Regions from separate parts of the Homo sapiens genome. Here regions 1, 2, 3 and 5 are each linked to region 4. The links are contacts of gene promoters, found by promoter capture Hi-C in blood cells and fetal thymus (Javierre and others, 2016). All regions are on one chromosome and are shown on one strand. The core of a region is centred on a gene start or on the middle of the fragment in contact, and the rest is flanking DNA. Distances in the headings are between cores, read along the strand shown. Region 1 overlaps ATAD1 (ATPase family AAA domain containing 1). Region 2 has its middle 22 kb from the start of ATAD1. Region 3 overlaps ATAD1 (ATPase family AAA domain containing 1). Region 4 holds the start of LIPF (lipase F, gastric type). Region 5 has its middle 5.5 kb from the start of ATAD1.

Evidence for each region. The method cuts DNA at HindIII sites, captures the fragments that hold promoters and counts their contacts. A CHiCAGO score of 5 or more calls a contact.
Region 1: a contact is called between a fragment that was not itself captured here and the fragment with the promoter of LIPF in region 4, in 1 of 17 cell types (neutrophils). The highest score is 6.6, in neutrophils.
Region 2: a fragment that was not itself captured here is called in contact with the fragment with the promoter of LIPF in region 4 in 1 of 17 cell types (neutrophils); the score reaches 6.3 in neutrophils.
Region 3: a fragment that was not itself captured here is called in contact with the fragment with the promoter of LIPF in region 4 in 1 of 17 cell types (neutrophils); the score reaches 7.8 in neutrophils.
Region 5: a fragment that was not itself captured here is called in contact with the fragment with the promoter of LIPF in region 4 in 1 of 17 cell types (neutrophils); the score reaches 5.7 in neutrophils.

Annotation. Positions count from the first base shown.
Region 1 is chr10:87,789,696-87,792,395 of GRCh38, reverse strand. It overlaps ATAD1 (ATPase family AAA domain containing 1), which reads left to right. Exons shown (of 10, transcript NM_001321967.2): 4 at 1,966-2,086. The region is part of intron 1 of LOC124902476 (a long non-coding RNA gene); the gene reads right to left. Among named protein-coding and RNA genes, the nearest start is that of ATAD1, 27 kb to the left of the region's middle. The HindIII fragment of the contact is 4,695 bases long and covers 1-2,700 here.
Region 2 is chr10:87,838,856-87,841,555 of GRCh38, reverse strand. It overlaps a transcript of ATAD1 not described here and the pseudogene CFL1P1. Among named protein-coding and RNA genes, the nearest start is that of ATAD1, 22 kb to the right of the region's middle. RefSeq lists a silencer at 10-304. The HindIII fragment of the contact is 1,798 bases long and covers 420-2,217 here.
Region 3 is chr10:87,805,833-87,808,532 of GRCh38, reverse strand. The region is part of intron 2 of ATAD1 (ATPase family AAA domain containing 1); the gene reads left to right. Among named protein-coding and RNA genes, the nearest start is that of ATAD1, 11 kb to the left of the region's middle. The HindIII fragment of the contact is 2,747 bases long and covers 1-2,666 here.
Region 4 is chr10:88,663,181-88,665,880 of GRCh38, reverse strand. LIPF (lipase F, gastric type) reads right to left here and starts at 1,439. Exons shown (of 10, transcript NM_004190.4): 1 at 1,390-1,439. The HindIII fragment of the contact is 12,070 bases long and covers 1-2,700 here.
Region 5 is chr10:87,822,412-87,825,111 of GRCh38, reverse strand. It overlaps a transcript of ATAD1 not described here and the pseudogene CFL1P1. Among named protein-coding and RNA genes, the nearest start is that of ATAD1, 5.5 kb to the right of the region's middle. The HindIII fragment of the contact is 8,192 bases long and covers 1-2,700 here.

The DNA of each region.
Region 1 (2,700 bases), core at 117-2,616, 870 kb after region 4:
TAGTGCATCAAGTTGTGACAACACATGTGCAGTGTTGTCACCAGGAAAGCTCACGGGAGACTCAGTCCCCAACATATTTATTGGGGGCTGGTTATATAGCTTTCCTCTTCCCTTAAATGTACCAAAATTCTAGACTCCCAGAAGGAAAATGGATGTTTCACCATAAACCATATTGTTTGCACAAACAGTTTAGGCACAGTGAGCTGTTCTTGTCAAGAAATTGTGGCACTCTTCTGAAATCTAAGTTCCCACATGCCAGCCAAGGGCCAATCTTGCAAATATGCCTTTCTAAGGACAACAGTCTCAGGCCTACTTTGTTAACTCTTTTCTGTACGCATTTGTTTAGTAAAACTTTTATGTATTTGCCTTTGTGGTGTATAAAGCGTACTGCTTTAAGTCATGTGGATTTTTGTTTTATAGAGTTTAAACCTAAATTTTCATAATATGGTATGATAACACAGGATACTAAATCCCAGGTTTTCCATTAATGGCCTTGGCAAATGATTTCCTCTTTGAGTCTCAGTTCCCTCATGTATAATCTAGAGATAATAATACCTACTTTACCTACTTCATAAGGATTATTTTGAGGATGAGATTGATGTAATGTATAAGATCCTATATCAATATTTTGTAACAATAAGTATACATTTATAAATTCTATAAATAGAAAATATTTGCCTAATACATTAATGTTATATTGCTATAAATAAGTAGAATGAAGTAGTCCCATCTCCATATCTAGAAAATAAAAGTCTGCAATGTCTTAATATCTGTGTATACAGAGACATACACACACCCTAGAATTAAGCCTGCATTTGAATTTGGTTTATAGATTTACAATGGTACCTTCTTGGAACCCTGCCTATATTAATTTCTGAATAAATCTGTACTAACAGACTTAGTTTTTTGTTGCTGTTACAGTGAAAGTTATTTTTTTTTTCAGATCTGGCTGCTGGTTTGCACCTTCCCTTTTTATCATTTTTTTTTACATTTTGAAGGAAATGAATCTATTGTAAAGTATTGCTTCTGATTGGCCCCAACTCCAGCTCCTTTCAGGACAAGTGCCAGTCCTTTCAGGACAAGTTGAATCAGGTTTTTCTTGTCTATTTTGAAAATACGTATGCCCTGTTTTTATTTATAAAGATACTTCCTTAAGTTTTAACATAGTTGTAATTTTTTTTTTTTTTTTTTGAGACAGAGTCTCACTCTGTCACCTAGGATGGAGTGCAGTGGCATGATCTTGGCTCACTGTAACCTCCGCCTCCCAGGTTCTGGCAATTCTCCTGCCTCAGCCTCCCAAGTAGCTGGGACTACAGGCACACACCACTACACCTGGTTAATTTTTTTTTTTTTTTTTTTTTTTTTGTAATTTTAGTAGAGACGGGGTTTCAACCATGTTGGCCAGGCTGGTCCCGAACTCCTGACCTCAAGTGATCCGCTCACCTTGGCCTCCCAAAGTGCTGGATTACAGGCGTGAGCGACCACGCCTGGTCCATAGGTTTACTTTTGATGGATAAAATTCAGAAGCTATGTTTTGTAAGACCTTATTTCTAAAATTAATTTCTGTGATGCTTGACAACATCCTGTATAAAATAGGTACATTCCTGATGAGCTCTTTCCCATCAGCCAGTGCTAAATTATGTCTCAGCTGGTTCTCAGTATTCTTGCAGCAGAGTATTTTCTCCTTACAAGTGGAATGAATTTAGCTTATTAGACCCTTGCAGATTTTTGAGTACCTGACTTACAGATTTTTAATAGTAGATAGTTGACTATTAAATTCCTTTTTCCAGTTTCATAGCAGTTTATTTCATTACTGCTTGGAAAAGTCTTTACTTATGTTAATATATGATTTTAACTTATTTATGTATAATCATCAGATTAACATTTGTAATTTTGGGAGCGTTCTTTTTACTTTAGTGAGTGTACATTTGTAGTAAAATTCATGTTGACCTTAACTTTTGCCAGGTTACTTGGAGTGATATAGCAGGTTTAGATGATGTCATTACGGATCTGAAAGACACAGTCATCTTACCTATCAAAAAGAAACATTTGTTTGAGAATTCCAGGCTTCTGCAGCCTCCAAAAGGTATGGTAAAGGTATATATTCGCCTAAAGCATTAAAATCCTAGAAAACATTGAAACTTTCTGCCATTGTAGAACTAGTTTTTGTGAAATCAGATTCTCAAGAGGATGCTGAGATCTATGTGAACAGTTTCTTAAAATAATTGCTCATTCTTCAGCTTCTGAAATTGAGATAAACTTTTTCCTGTATTTACATGTTAAAATACTTGTTAAAATAATCTCCTTCAATTTCTTTTCTCTTACTTCCAAGTAAATTAAAATTTGGAAAATCAAGATTAAAGAAAGATTCAAAGTCATAATACAAGTTTTTTGTTTTGTTTTGTTTTGTTTTCAAGCCAAGACATTTTTTTCTTGTTTCACAGCTCCAACGATCTTATTTTTAGAATGTAATGATTCTTTTTCAGGAAATATTTATCTGCAGATGAACTAGAAATTAAATATTTAACTTTGATGGAGATGTTTGCTTATTCAAAATCACTTTGAAAGTCTTGGAACTCAAGAATTGAATATGCTCATAACTGCATCATTAAGTGTAATTCTTGTTCATTCAAATCTTTCTTTTTTTTTCTTTTCTCTCTTTTCTTTTCTTTTTGAGATGGGGTCTCACTGTGTCACCCA
Region 2 (2,700 bases), core at 69-2,568, 820 kb after region 4:
ATTAATTATAATTTTATGTCATGCCAATGTTTTGGTTAAGAGTCTAAGAAGGCTGCATTTGCCTCTGAATCACTCTATGGTCAAGGCCTTGTATTGTGAGAACAGCCCAATCATATTGACCTGGCACATGCTTCTCTGAAGTCACATGTCCAGCATTGTGACATGAGCAAGAATGCAGGCAACCTCTTGATTCCACTCATTCAAAGTTCTCTGTGGGGACTAGGTTCAGAAGATGTCATCTCCCCCATAGACTAGCTTCCCAGAGAATGTCACCTGCAAACTAGAATGATGCTAGTCTCAGCTTAACTGTGCAAAGAGAAAACCAGAACGCGCTCCCCAGGAACAAGGTTCATTCACAGTTGTCAGAAGGTACATTAACACTTAGAATCAAAACTTCATATAGGCTCTAGTGTAAAGCTTGACAACTCCTAACTACATCTTAGCTTTCACTACAGTGGAAGCAGTCCTGCTTCCACTGAAGTTTCTTAGAGATTAAAAAAAAAAATTACTAGGTAAATCTTTGTACCTTTGTACTTCTCATGCTAGCAGTTTTTTTACGTATCAGAGAGATGCTCAGTTAAGTACTCATAAGCTCCGTGACTAAAAGACTACATACTTTTTCAATTATAAACAAACATACAAATACAACTTATCAGCTGGATATAATATAGCCCTGAGATAAAAATATCATCATATATTACTTTACATTATCATGTCATGTTATGTTCTTTCTACGCTTTGGTATGGGACATTATGTATGTTCTTTCTACACTTTGGTATGGGACACTATCTGGAAAGACCTTAATCACTATTTATATTTTATGTTTTCCAAAGGGAACATCAACAGAGGAAATGTCAAACTTAAGAAATATTCTGTTCCCTGAAGGGGTGAAAAAAGGGCTATGAGGCCTAGTTAATTACAAATCAAACATAGTAATATACCTGTTTCCTCAGTTGCAGTAGAAATAACCAAAATTCCCTCAAATGTGCACTCCTAATTTTGTTCAAGAAACTAACGTTTCTCTTTCAAACAAGTTCTGATGAAATTATCATTTTCTTTTTTCTTTTTCAGAGATAGGGTCTCACTCTGTCACCTAGGCTGGAGTGCAATGGCGCAATCATGGCTCACTGCAGCCTCAACCTCCTGGGCTCAAGTGATCCTCCCACCTCAGCCTTCAAGTAGCTAGGACTACAGGGGCACACCACAACACCCGGCTAATTTTTTACTTTTATTTTTAGAGACAGGGTCTCACTATGTTGCCCAGGCTCATCTCAAACCTTTGGTTTCAAGCAATCTTCCCGCCTTGTCATCACGAAGTGTTGGGATTATAGGCATGAGCCACTGCATCCAGCCTGAAATTATCATTTTCTAATATTTCTCTTTTAATTTTCTCTAAGATGGAAGTAGCCAAATCACAATTAAGGTTTAATTTCACAGAGTATCCTGATTAACTCTGGAACAATGTAACATTTTAGTAAAATTATAGTGTGGGAGAGAAAAACTACAGTATTTTTATTCTAGAATTGAGGTCAGTAATAATCTTTTTATTCCTAAATGACTCAAACAGAGTTAATTCATGTCTCTGGCCACCACTGGCAGGGCTAAAGCCTGGCCATGAAGTGAAGGACAATATGGAAAGGTGGAACAGGAATAGGAAGGCAGCATACAAGGAAAAGATGAGAGGTGTTGACAGATTTTTAAAGAGGATAAAGATCAGCAGCTTTTTACAATCCCATTACTTCTTTAAATCTACTAATTCATCCAGGTTCACAGATATAAAAACTGTGAGGAAGAGAAAAAGAAGAGGGAATGGATGAGATGGAGAAGATTACTGGGGGCGGCGGGGGGGAAGAAAGAAAGAAGCCCATTTGGTGGAAAGCAATAGAGCATAACATGAAATTGCCTTAGGTACAAAGCTCACTGATCTATTCTAGAGTCTTCGTCCCACTTGAGACAATAGCCTAGTTCTAGTCCAGTTCCACTCCAATTATAAGGACTTGTCCTTCTCTTGATGGTCAAGAATTACTCATGTTCTGTTTACTATTAGATAAAAATTTATTTAAAACTACTATCTGCAGAAGACAAGCAAATTGCTTTATCTTCCTTCTACTCATTTATATTATTCAATACGATCCTCGTTTCTTATAGTTTAACAGGATGTATGTGAAAGAAATGGACTGTTGGCTCCTAACCATAAGTTCTCTTTGAGGCAAGCTTCTCAGAGATAAAAATAAAAATAATTGGCCCAAACAGGACCTAGGTCACCTAGCCTTGAGATTATTTACAGAGAAACATCAGGCAAATTTAGTCAAGGTGACTGAAGACCAAACAATTAAGCAATAAATTAATTCAAAAAAGACATACCAAAATATATATATTTGAAGTGTTACAACTACATGGCACAAAATTATTGGATCTCTAAAGCTATCCATCTAGTGTTGGGGGATTTGTTTCTATTTCTGTCTAGAAATTCAGCTAAGTATAATTTGTTATAAATCTTGCAGAAAACATGTACAGGTAGAATTATAAAGAAAAGTAGTGACTGAATTGGGAAGAATGAGGCAATATGTAGTGCCAAGAATTTTTTCATGAATATGTTGGCAATTGTATTTGTCTGCTCAAGGTGCCAAAACAAAATACCATAGACTGAATGGCGAAAACAGCAGAAATCTACTTTCTCACAGTTTGAGAGGCTGGGA
Region 3 (2,700 bases), core at 44-2,543, 860 kb after region 4:
TGTTGCCCAGGCTGGAGTGCAGTGGCATGATTTTGGCTCACTGCAACCTCTGCCTCCCGGCTTCAGGCGATCTTTAACTTGATAAAATGCATTTACTAAAACAAATGTATTTTATAGTGAAGAATTGGAAACATTCTCTTTATGATTAGGAGCAAGCCTGTTGTCTTTCATTACTTTTCATTACTTTTTTTTTTTTTTTGGCTTTTCTTTGTTTACTTTGTTTACTTCTTTGTTTACTTTTACTTCTGTTTAACATTTTACTGAGTTACTAGCCACTGCCTAAGTCAAAAAGGTGGGGATTGGAAAAGAAGAAACTAAATAGTCATTATTAATGGATAATATGATAATCTACATAGAAAGCCAAAGAATGTTTACAAGCTATCAGGATTCATGAGAGTTTGATGGGTTTGCTGGATTTAAAATCAGTATACGAAAATCAGCTGTTTCTGTATACCCATCATGTTTTAAAATGTCATTTAAAAAAAGCATTATATAGTAGCATCAAAAATATAAAACAACGGACAAACATAAGACATACAACACATTCATAGAGAAAATTATAAAACTATTGAAAGTTTAGTTAAATTCAACATCAGTACAAAAATACTGGCAGATTTTCGTTTTGTTGTATTTTTTCCTGAAATTCATGTGGAAGAACAAAAGTCTATAAATAGGGAAGGCAATCCTAAAACACAAAGTTTTATTTAACTACTTTGGGTCTTGAGTTTTCTTATCTGTAAAAGAAATAATAATAGCACTTACCTTGTTGGGTTGCTATTGAAATTAAATATATAATGTAAAATATAACAGTGCTGCATAAGTGTTTCCTATTATTTTTATAACTTAAAAGATTTGTACTGAGGACATATATAGAATGCATCTGAATCAGTAAGAAAAAATAATAGAAAAATGGGCAAAGAAACTTAAATAGACACATTAAAAAAGAAAAATCTCCAGTGGTCAATAAACATATGAAAAGATGCACAAACTGATTAGAAATCAAGGAAATGCAAATTAAAGTCAAATTGATATACCTTTTCACCCCTGCCAGGTTGTAAAGTTTTAAGTCTGTCAATAACGTGCTGGAGAGAATGTGGAACAGTAGGAACAAAAGTATTGCTGTTGGGAATATAAATTAGTATAACTATTTTGGAAGATAGTTTGGCATTATCTAGTAAAGTTGAAAATGTGCATAGTCAGTGATCCACAAGTTTCATTCTGGGCATATAGCGAAGAACCAGGAGATACATACAAGAGTGCTCATAGCAGCCCTGCTTGTAATGGAAAAAAGCAGGAACCAATCTGAATATTTGTATAAATGTTGGTATATGCACATATAGGAGAGGAAAAACACTTTTCCTTCTACCGTTCTGAATTCTCATTTGGGCCTCTATAACAAAAGATAGATAAACAAGAGAAAAACAAACAAGTTTATTAACATGTATCAAGCATGCAACCAATAGGAGTACCAGAGATGAGTAACTCAAAAGTTTGGTTAGAACTTGAGTGTATATAGTATCTTGGCAAAGAAACAAATTTTTAAAGAAGCGATCAGACAAAAGAAAAGGAGTCTCTAGGGGCAGCAAACTGTGGGAAACTAATGGTAGATGAAGACTAGTTGGTAAAGTTTGTTATGCAGATTCCTCTGGCTAAGTGTCTAAAGTTGTCTCCTTTGATTAACTTTCGTCCTTCCTCGTAAAGAGAAGAGGAGGGAGACCTTTGTGAATTTATTGTTTTTAGGCAAGTAGGAGTAGGGCAGATAGCTTTTCTTGTATCTGTTTTTTTCTAAATTTCCCTCAACTCAAAATAATTATTATGCCAGAGTGGCATACTTTGGTCTGCACATGCCAGAGCATAATATTCGCGGAGAAAAGTGAATGAAATACAGATGCTCAACAACTCTAAGAAATAGTGAGATGAAAATGTCACAGAAGAGTACATATAGTGTGATCCCATGTAGACATTCTGAAACATGTAAAACTAAACCTTAGGGAATCAAACATATGGTTAAGTTAAAGAAAAGCAAGAGATGATTTCAATTTAGGATTGTGATTTTTTTTTCTGGGAGACGAGAAGATCTGTATTTGGAGAGGGCCTCACCGAAGGACTTGAAAGATAATAATAATGTTCTTGTTCTTAAACCTGGATTGGTATTGATTATATTGTGTTTCTTTATACCTCATCTAAACAGTCTAAGATATTATTTTATCTACCTAGTTATTAGTAAAAGCACTGTAAGAACTTAAAAAAAAAAATGACCAGAGGAGTGAGAATAAAACCAAGATGATGTTTAGGGTACTGGTGATAGTCTTTTCTACATGAATACATCTGAAGTACACAGAGTACTGCAGACAGTCATAGTGGTTCACTGTGGCAGTGATTGTCAACTGAAACACTATGTTCTGCAAAGAAATAATCAGAATTTGGGGAAGTTTGTGGGGTGGCAAATATAATTTTTTAAAACCTCAGAGATTATTTGGTTATCCCTCTTCTCACTTCTTTCCCACTGTCTGGGGAATCACTTGCATAAAGTCACCATAGCCAAAGAAGGAGAAGGTTGCAAAAGAGAATTGATTTTAAACGTGTTATAGAATGGTCAAGGAGAAGAAGAGGTCATGAGGAATATGATCTAAGAAAGTGATCAGTAAATTTAGTGAAATTAAGCTTGGAGAGAGTAATTTCCATTTGGTGGAGGCAGCA
Region 4 (2,700 bases), core at 190-2,689:
ATTTCAGCTACTTGGGAGGCTGAGACGCAAGAGTCCTTGAACCGAGGAGGCGGAGGTTGCAGTGAGCGGAGATCGCACCATTGCACTCCAGCCCAGGAGACAGTGTGAGACTCCGTCTCAAAAAAAAAAAAAAAAAAAAAAAATCAGTTTTTAACTAAGCCTTGTTTTTACCGTGATATTTTAGGAAGAGATAAACTAATATATAAAGACTAACCAGTAGTGTTGTAACATTCAAACCAGAGGCTTTCATCAAACATTTCAGGAACCCACATGACCTCCATTAAGTGATTTGCCATTGTAAAGTGAGGACACTTAACCTACTGTTTGCGTTGGAGAACATCTCAATGGGCTCAAAGATGTTCAAGGGCAGAATAAATTTCTCAAAATGCTTGTTGCCAAGTCCTAGGAAAATACCAGTAATTAACACATACAGAGGACTCACTGTGTGCTGTACTGTGTGTTCAACATGGTATACGTGAAATGAACTATCTTGCTAAGACAGTGTTCTCATCTATAAAACAGGGCCTGTAATAGTACATTTCTCTATGTTAGGGGAATTCATTATGATAACAAAAGTAAAGTTCTTAACATGCTGGGCATCTCATAAACGTTAGTTAAATATAGTTATTATGACTATTATCTCATTTAATTCTCATAGCAACTCTATGAAGTAGGTAGCATTATATTATCCATTTTACAAATAAGCAAGGTAAGGCTAAAAGAGGACTCGCCCAACCAAATATATAGAAAGTAGTGGAGCCCATATTTTAAACTAGTCTATTTCCAAAGGCTATGTTCTTCCCCACTGTAATACTCCTTCAGTATGACCCTGGGCCAGCTTTTATAGGGACATCCCCAGGGAGATTTATATAATTTGGTCTAGACTTCTGTTTTGAAAAGTTTATAATTTAAATAAATGTTTTAATAGCCTATAAGGTTTCACAATCGTATTAATAATGATCAATTCAACAGCAGTTGATTTGGATGATATTAAATATTAAACATAGCATATTAATACAGCCAATTATATGTCACTAGATTACTGATCTATTCCTTCTCAAAAAGAAGAGTCACAGAGACTAGACTTTCACATTAGGAACTTAATAAACAAATTTGTAATTCAATAGTTAAGAAATTATGAGACTTTCACATTAGGCACTAATTGCAATAATAAACAAATTTGTCATTCCATAATTAAGAGTCTCATGTCCATACAAAAAAAAGAATAAAATAAATCAAATCCTAGAGGAATAAGCCATAATTTAAACAGATACATTTATGCAGGTGAATATGCAACAAATATCTAAGCCTTTAAAAATGCATCACTTGGGATAAAGAAAAAATCTAATAATTCAAATAACAATTTTGTTCAGCAGAAGTTCTACTTACAGTTTCCTCAGAAATAGTTAGGATTCTGTTTCTCTGGCTGGTTAGTATTTTGGTCAATGTTGTATTGACTTCTTATATACAAAACCTTCAACAATGGTCAGATTCCTCATCCACTGATTACATTACCAAAAAGACTTACTATCTGGGCATCATCTAATGTTAACAGGACAAAACTAAAAATTAAATATTGCATTCATTTTCACATAATACTGAGTGCTCACCTTTAACTTTTAACAAAGACAAATATTGGCCAAAGTAGTTCTGAGGATTAAAATGATTTAGGAACCATTAAAAATAATCCTTGATAGCCTAAACATATAAACGTTTTTGAGCCAAAGGTATAATGCAAATGATTATATAGTTTGGCTCAGATAGAGAGGCATAAAATGACAAAAGGCCACCTGTTATTCTTTAAAAATGCAGCGCATAAGCTATTTTGACTAGATGGTTAGATAAGTGAATGTGTTCAGCAAAGATTAATATTTTATTATGGTCTTTGACCAGGGTCTCAAATCCTACAGATAATGGTCTAGCTATCATACAAAACCCAGCCCTTGACCTTTAAGAACATATTTTTGGTGTCTTTTTCCTTCTAAGAAATCTAGGCTTAATACCTGGACGATGAAACAATCTGTACAACAAATCTCCAGGACACAGGTTTACCTATGTAACAAACCTGCACTTGTACCCCTAAACTTAAAATAAAAGTTAAAAAAAAGGAAACAAAAAAATCTATGGGTTATAGTTTGAACAATATGAATGTGTTTATTAAAAGTATATATTAAATTATGTTTTAAAATACAGTTGATCCTTTACAACCATCATGAGCATCTGTTGCTCGTGGGATACATGTGCGGAATGTGCAGGTTTGCTGCATAGTATACATGCGCCATGGTGGTTTGCTGCACCAATCCACCCATCATCTACATTAGGTATTTCTCCTAGTGCTATCCCTCCCATTGTCCCCTAGCCCCTGGCAGGCCCTGGTGTGTGACGTTCCCTTCCCTGTGTCCATGTGTTCTCATTGTTCAACTCCCACTTATGAATGAGAACATGCGGTGTTTGGTTTTCTCTTCCTGTGTTAGTTTGCTGAGAATGATGCTTTCCAGCTTTATCCATGTCCCTGTGAAGGACATGAACTCATCCTTTTTCATGGCTGCATAGTATTCCATGGTGTATATGTGCCACATTTTCTTTATCCAGTCTATTATTGATGGGCATTTGGGTTGGTTCCAAGTCTTTGCTATTGTGAATAGTGCTGCAATAAACATATGTGTGCATGTGTTCCCTACAGTGGAATGATTTACAATC
Region 5 (2,700 bases), core at 113-2,612, 840 kb after region 4:
GTAGGAGGACTTGCATTTTTATAAGATGTTTCAATCTTTAGAAATTCATAAAAGCAAAGAATGTATACTCAATAAATGATTGTTACTTGACAGATGGGAATAACAGCCAATATTAATGATGGTCTCTGAACTGAGAAATATCCATAATTTTCATGGATCGATAAATACGTTAAACTTTATTATCTTTGGGTCGTAGGGATGAAATCTTACAGGTTTTATATAACTATCATAAATGTTTTATAGACTACTGATCAGTAAGACTCAGCCAGAGGGGTGTATTAAGAATGGGAATGTGAGAACCAAGAGGTCAGCAGGACAGAGAGGCACAGCCTCTTCACAAGTCAGAGAAGATAAACATTTCAGACAAGATGCCATGGTTGAAAACTGAAGAGGTAAGGTCCTCATGCAAACACAGAGGAGATATGAAAAGATCATTGTCCTTACAGAATCTAGGAATGAGAGAATATCACCTCATCGTATAATGAAAATAACATCTGAGGTATTACACCAGCATGTTTACTGAGCACTTGCTAAGTGCCAGGCATTGAGCTCAGCACTGTACATGTATTGTCTCATTGAATTCTTAGTGCAAGTCCATGGCATGTGTACTGTTACTGTTCCCATATTAAATATAAGGAAACTGAGGCTTGAGAACATAAGTAACTTGTCCAAATTAACAGAGTCAGTATACAGTAGATCTTAAATTCAAACCCAGGTCTGTCAAGTTCACGTTCTTATACCCTATAGATACCAAGACTCCCCGATTGGACTAGTTTCTAATGGACACATCAGGATAGGGCAATCATATAATTATCATCAGTAAAATGGTTTGAATCGTATGTCATACCTTTGGACCACTTGTCTTTCCTCCCCCCTTCCCTTTTTTTTCCTCTTTAATCAGGTTAAATCTATACCTCTCCTATGTCCTAGGCATCCTCTTTTCTCTCTAGTCAGGTTAAATCTTGTTAAGCCTCTCCTATGTTCTAGGCATCCTCTTTTTTCAAGATGATAATATATTATAGGAGAATAAAGACTTCAACTATAATTCTGTGAGCTGAGTACTATGCCAGTGCTAACCAAAGTGAATTACGGGAACTAACAGAATGGACACAGAGTTTAGTGTACTTGTGCTTAGAAGATAAAAGACCTCAAATTATTCTTGTTCATTTTAGTTTCACATATGTTTCAAGGTTATCAGTTATTCTGGCTATTAGAGAAACGGGTGGGAGGAGGAAGGTTTTATGCGATCTTAATTTTTAAAATATTAAGTACCAGTACCTATTATTTTCTAAATACTTTCAAGGGCATTTTCCTAGAATCAGGTAAATGAGAGAAGGCAAGTGACCTACTTACAGCAAAAATTGCTCTAGGTTATAAAGGATGGGAAGCCAAGTGCATCCTGAAAACCACAGCATCTGGTCTTGTTTTATGCCTCATCTATCAATCTGTTGTTACAGGAATTGAGAATTAACATTTCAACTATTGTTTCTTCTATTTTAACTAATGCATTTGTATCTTTGTTATTCTTACTCAATCTTTCCCACCTCCTCCCCATTTAAGAAACCATAGGCAGGGGCATTATGAAGGTCCCAATTTAATCCTAGGGGGATCACTCTTTCATCTACGCCTTAAAACTTCTGCTAATGAGGCTACAGTAGGGTTAGACATCTGAAGCAATTCTGGTTTTGTTCAATCCTGATTTTTCACAGATAGTATCATTTGAACAGTACTGTATTAAAGCTAAATAAAATATTGTAGGTTGTAAATTTCCAAGTTCTAGAAAACATTTTTTGGTAGAAGTTTTTAAAAAGTACACTTGGCAATGCTGCTTGAGAAAAAGGTTACGTAGAAATGCAGATTGTGGATTAGTATTACCCTGATAACACAAGAAAATTATATATAACTTCTTTTTATATACACTCATTTAAAATTATGTGTAAAGTTTAAAAACATAAAACCATGGAAAGTAGATTTACAGCAATATGTTCTTTGAACTTTGCTGTTGTCTTTTTTTTTTTTTAGTTCTCTTCTTTTTACAGAATGGAGTTATCAATTCATCTTTCTACTTCTTCCAATCTTTTGAAATTTTAAATTTCCATTATTTTTTCCTTGATTCTATCTTATTCTTTCTTATTTTTATTTTTTAGTTTAGCTTTTTTTTCATTTTTTAAAAAAGTTTATGGGTACATAGTAGGTGTGTGTATCTATGGATTACATGATATATGCTGATACAGGCATACAATGTGTTATAATCACATCAGGGTAAATGAGGTATCCATTACCTCAAGCATTTATCATTTCTTTGTTACAGACATTCCAATTATACTCTTTTAGTTATTTAAAAATGCACAATAAATTACTGTTGACTGTAGTCACCTTGCTGTGTTGTCAAATACTAGATCTTATTTTTTCTATCTAACTGTATTTTTGTACCCATTACCATTCTCACTTCCCTCCTACCCCCCACCACTATTCTTCCCAGCCTCTGATAACCATCATTCTACCCTCTATCTCCATGAGTTCAACTGTTTTAATTTTTAGCTCCCACAAATGAGTGAGAACATGCAAAGTTTGTCTTTCTGTGCCTGGCTTATTTCACTCAACATAATGTCCTACAGTTCTGTCCATGTTGTTGCAAATGACAGGATCTCATTTTTTTAAATGGCTGAATAGTACTCCATTGTGTTCTATATTATCTTT